2 separate regions of the Homo sapiens genome follow, and region 1 is linked to region 2. Evidence: promoter capture Hi-C in 16 types of primary human blood cells and fetal thymus (Javierre and others, 2016). All regions are on one chromosome and are shown on one strand. Each heading gives the region's core, a stretch centred on a gene start or on the middle of the fragment in contact. The rest is flanking DNA. Distances are from core to core; before and after follow the strand shown. Region 1 holds the start of MIR3198-1 (microRNA 3198-1). Region 2 holds the start of MICAL3 (microtubule associated monooxygenase, calponin and LIM domain containing 3).

Region 1 (2,700 bases), core at 14-2,513, 260 kb before region 2:
TCCATAACACAGTTTCTTCTGTCATTCTCTCATGAGGGTACAGTGGACTTTCCCAGGGGCTGAGCGAAAGAGATACTGCAACAACCGAGAATCCAGGTATCCTCTATTCAGTCAGACACCCAGGAGATCTGCAGAAACACTGACGCAATGCTGTTCTTCTCAATAGAAATGTTTTGTTTTATAAAATAGTTACGTTGGCCAGGCGAGGTGGCTCACGCTCGTAATCCCAGAACTTTGGGAGGCCGAGGCGGGTGGATCACCTGAGGTCAGGAGTTTGAGACCAGCCTGACCAATATGGTGAAATCCCGTCTCTACTAAAAATACAAAAATTAGCCGGGCATGATGGCGTGCACCTGTAACCCAGCTACTCGGGAGGCTGAGGCAGAAGAATTGCTTGAACCCAGAAGGCAGAGGTTGCAGTGAGCCAAGATCAGGCCACTGCACTCCAGCCTGGTCAACAGAGCAAGACTCTGTCTCAAAATTAATTAATTAATTAATTTAATTAAACAATTTCACAAATTTCAAATGAATGAACACTTTTTTTTTTTTGGAGACAGGGTCTCACTCTGTCAAGCAGGCTAGAGTGCAGTAGCACGATCATGGCCCACTACAGCCTCAAACTCCTGGGCTCAAGTGATCCTCCTGCCTCAGCTTCCCAAAGTGCTGGGATTACAGGTAAGGACCACTGTGACTGGCCTATTTTTAAAATTTCTCAGTTTTAATTCTAACACAGAATATAGGGATAAAAGCCTACTTAATCAAACGCTTTTTGGTTCCTCAATAATTTTTATATATAAAGGGATCTAGAGACCAAAAAGTTTGAGAAGTGCTGCTTTGAGGAAAAAAAACAAAACCTGTTTGTTTGTTTGTTTTTTTAAGACGGAGTCTCACTCTGTCACCCAGGCTGGAGTGCAATGGCGTGATCTTGCCTCATTACATCCTCCGCCTCCCAGGCTCAAGCGATTCTCCTGCCTCAGCCTCCCGAGTAGCTGGGACTACAGGCATGCACCACCTCATCCGGCTAATTTTTGTATTTTTAGTAGAGATGAGGTTTCACCATGTTAGCCTGGCTGGTCTCAAACTCCTGACCTTAGGCGATCCACCCGCCTCAGCCTCCCAAAGTGCTGGCATTACAGGCGTGAGAAACTTCGCCTGGCCACCTGTATTTTTTCTTTGAAAAATAAAAGCATTTACATAGCTGTTTGTCTCCATCATGTGTATTAATTATAACTTTTTTTTTTTTGAGACATAGTCTGGCTCTGTCATCCAGGCTGGAGTGCAGTGGCACAATCTTGGCTCACTGCAACCTTCGTCTCCTGGGTTCAAGTGATTCTCCTGCCTCAGCCTCCCAAGTAGCTGGGATTACAGGTGACCGCCACCACACCTGGCTAATTTTTGTATTTTTAGTAGAGACCGGGTTCCTCCGTGCTGGTCAAGCTGGTCTCGAACTTCTGACCTCAGGTGATCCGCCCGCCTTGGTCTCCCAAAGTGCTGGGATTACAGGCGTGAACCACCGTGCCTGGCCTTATTATAACTTTTAACAAAGTAACTGACTTCCATTTTACAGAGAACCGCAGGCTGACAGTTGAGAGCTGTCTCCAGACACATGTTTAGCAGACGCCTGTGGGCACACACACCATAGCCTTCACAGCCACTCGCGCCCTTCTATGCTTCCTCAACATGAAAACATACTTTTTTTTTTTTTTTGAAAAGCAACCATTTATTAGAACCAATACAAGAGTATGAAAAGAGGGAAAAGAGGAGGGTAGAAGAGGGGGAGAGAATGAGGTCTGTATCAGATGTCAGTTATGGAAACACATAAATGCTTACTCTTTTTAAACACTGACATTTACAAGGTGAACATATATATAGACCACTTATAATTTAAAAAAAAAAAAAATCAAAAGCAGACATGTTTGGCTGAAATAAAACCAGGAAACACAACCAAAACTCCCCCATAAACCTAAAAGTCCATGGAGAATTCAATTTCTCATTTCCATTCAGAAATCTGGCTACAGAGTGATTTGTTTGCTACTTGGGACAGTACAGCGTGCTGAAAGAAACCCAGCTACTGAGTCTCTTAGATCCCATCCTGTAGGAAGTGGTGGGAAAGCCAGCGGACCATGGGCAAGTCAACTCCTGGCTACTTGGCAGGGCGTCAGACTGTGCTCTCTCCATTCCCCAGGACTCCACAGAACCGTCTGGTACTGCTAGTGCTGGGTGAACAGTGAGAGCACAGTCCACAAAACACAGAGAACCAGAATGTGACTGCAAGCAGCCAGGACCTTGTGCTTTTTCATGGATTACAAATCTAGGGCCAAGGAGAGGGAAAGGAGAAAGAGCCCTATTGGGAAGAGGCGTTGGCTGTGCCCCTACACTGAGATGGAAAGAGTAAGGCTCTTGAGCCCACACCTGGGCAAGTAGAAATAGTGTCCAAACTTTTCTCAAACCAGAGGGAAAAAAGGTCAAGGTTAGGTTAAGACTGCAGACACTAAGAGATCACAGATGCTGAATACAGTGAATCGGATGAAGCTTTAAGGATCAATGCCCAATTCTGAGTGTTACACACATTTCTAGGAAAAATAATTCCAATGTAGCTTTTTGTTGGGGGGTGGAAATAAGGTGGTCACATTTATTGAATCAGCTGTCCCTATGAGGAAGGAGAGGCCCGGGTACAGATACCACAAAGGGGTACAGTGA
Region 2 (2,700 bases), core at 109-2,608:
GTATGCACTCCAAATTTTCCCACCACCACTCCTCCCCACAAAAAGAAAATTTAAAAAATCCCAGTGTTTGGGCCATATCCCAGACCAATTAAGTCAGAATCTCCAGGGATTGGACCCAGGTAGCAGGATTTCTAAAAATCTCCCCAGCAGCCAGGCCTGAGAGCTAATGAATAGCACCACAGGGCCCAGCCTTTCAGCCTACAGCTTGTCTCGGTTTCACCCTTTTTTCATTTCTTTACAATGAAAATTCTAAATAGTTGATCACAGTGCCAGACCAATAAGAAAGCATTTTAGGGAGGAGAGAGGAGGGAAGGGGTTGGCAGGCACGGAGAGGACTTGACACACAGAAAGCATTTTGCTATGGAGTCATAACCATTTGATTCTAAGACACATGCAGCCTCCAGAAGTCATGCGGCCCCGCCCTCTGCTTCCAGGAGGGAATGAACTTGGCCGTCCTTTTGTTGCACACGCCCGGGAGCTGCGCCGGCGCAGCGCGCCCTGCAGCCTGGGAGCGCAAGCGTGTGCGCCACTGGTCCTGGGCCACCACCGCGCGCCGCGGGCGGGTGCAGGGCCCCTCTGCCGCAGGGAAACCGGCGTTCCCCGCGCAAAGCAGCCGCTGCTCCTAATGAGCTCATGGGTTCACCGCGCTGAGCTAGCCAGAGCGGACCCGGCTTCGCCAAGGGCCTGCTGGCTGTCCTGACACCTGGCCTACCTCGGGGGTGCCTGGGTACGCTCTTCCTTTGCCTGCGGGATAGAAGCACAATGAAAATGGGGTGGACGTGGCTGGGAGACAGCCCTGCTCTCTGGCAGGCTCTGGGGAGTGTGTGGTACGTGGCATCCGCACTGGTGGGTGTCGTGCGATGATCGAGACACGGATACTGGGTGTCTTTCCCACTAGGGGAGAGAGGGCTGCGTTTAGAGGGAAACGAAATAGATCCGAGAAACACAAAGATGTCACAAAGGAAACGCTTCCCCACCATAAGCAATCTAAATAAATGATTCTTAGAAGACATCCAGCAAAACACATAACCTTGTCATTTAGATTCGCTCGCCCACAGGGGGACTGGAGGGTACTCACCGACTAGGGCTTCACAGCCGCATCACCGCCGGCGGTGGGCGCCTGCCTCGGCAGGGGCAGGGTGGGTGCCCGCAGGGCACAGGTGCCGCCGTGGCTGCTCGCACAACCCCTGCAGCTGCGATCCCGCCCAGTTAGCCTCGGGGGCTGCACAGCCCAGCCCCCTCGCCCAGGGCCCAGGGGTTCTCAGGCCGCGCGGCGAGGACGGAGGGCTGCCCCGGGTGCCTGCCTACGCGGGCGCTCCCCGCCGGGACTCCGCCGGGGCTGCAGGAGCGCGCGCTGCTGGCTGGGCGGGCTGCGGCTCCGCGCGAGCGCCGTGGCAACGCGAGCGGGCGCCCCCAGGAGGCCGCGGAGCTGCGGCGTGGGACGCTTGGGTGAGGCTCAAGCCAAAACCAAACCCAAACCATTTCTCCTCCTCCCCATCTTTTCATTTTCTCCCCTTCTTTTCATTTTCTCCCCTTCTCCAACCCCTTCCTCGACACACGTTACTAGCACCTCGAAGGTTGGAAATTCCAGCACTCTCCTGAGGCCTCTTCCCCAGCGAATCCTGCTAACCACGCAGTCGGTGTTCGCTGTGTGTTCGAGCACACACCTCCTTGCAGTGGCTTCAGCACCCAGGTCTCCGGGAGCCAGTGAAGGAACCAAGTGTTGGATACTGAGCAAGTCGCGTAACATCTGAGTAGTCGTGAAATTGAAATTTCAACGGTATAAAGGACACGACGTTGTCTTACAGATTGAAAAATGCTATAAAATGAAGTTCTTACTGTTACTATGATGATGACCCTGGAGATCAGCGCAGAGCCCTGGGGGAGGGCTACAGTTGCAAGCGCTCCAAGGATCAGATCGCGCACTCCTCCCCACCGGAGAAAACCTCTTGATGCCGGAGCCCGGGCAGCCTCTTCCACACTTCCAGCCAGCCCCTTCCACACTTCCAGCCAGCCCCGGCATTGCCACAGCCCGTGGAGCTGGACAGAAATCCACCAGGCACTAAAATAAGTTAGATGGAAGACGGGATGGATTTGACCAAATTCCTATCAGCATCTGCTCAGTATAATTGCAACATTATAATCAGAGCAGAAAGAAGCCCAGAGATTATTTTGTCTTCAAGGATCATTGGCCTCAGTATTATCTCCATCTGAAGCTGTGTTGTCCAAAGCAGATTGACTCCAGCCGGCCAGCTCAGAAGAGGGCCGACTCTGGGCTGGCGACTCCTTGAGAAGGGCTCTCTCTGGTCCCAGGTGGTATTTACTTAACCGTATCATCATCTGCTTCATTCGTGTTCCCTTCATGTCCATCATGTGAGGACGGGAACTGACAGGGCCAGGGTGTCGGCTCAGAGGCAATCTCTGCTCATCCTCTAGAGCCCCACTTCATCACCCAGCCACTCTGTCCACTGTCTCCCCACCTACAAACCTGCAGGTGTTCTGCCCCAGTACTAGAATAAGGGAACACATTTTTACTGAGCTCTGACAATGTGACTGGGCTTTTCAGGAGCTATTTCATTTAATTTTTAATGTAAAACATTGTTTTACATATTAAGAACCTAAAAGCACAAACAGTAAGTAACTTGCTTGTGGAAGCTTATGCAGCGAGATAAGTGGTAAAGCTGCAATTCCCAGTTTTGT

The links. Contacts are between HindIII fragments. The CHiCAGO score rates a contact against its expected background, and 5 or more counts as called.
Region 1: a contact is called between a fragment that was not itself captured here and the fragment with the promoter of MICAL3 in region 2, in 3 of 17 cell types (erythroblasts, megakaryocytes and naive CD4 T cells). The highest score is 6.0, in erythroblasts.

Annotation. Positions count from the first base shown.
Region 1 is chr22:17,762,019-17,764,718 of GRCh38, forward strand. All of the region lies in intron 1 of BID (BH3 interacting domain death agonist), which reads right to left. It overlaps MIR3198-1 (microRNA 3198-1), which reads right to left and starts at 2,241; the gene lies at 2,162-2,241. The HindIII fragment of the contact is 2,534 bases long and covers 1-2,530 here.
Region 2 is chr22:18,023,203-18,025,902 of GRCh38, forward strand. It overlaps MICAL3 (microtubule associated monooxygenase, calponin and LIM domain containing 3), which reads right to left and starts at 1,359. Exons shown (of 32, transcript NM_015241.3): 1 at 1,079-1,359. RefSeq lists a silencer at 1,087-1,496. The HindIII fragment of the contact is 4,064 bases long and covers 1-2,653 here.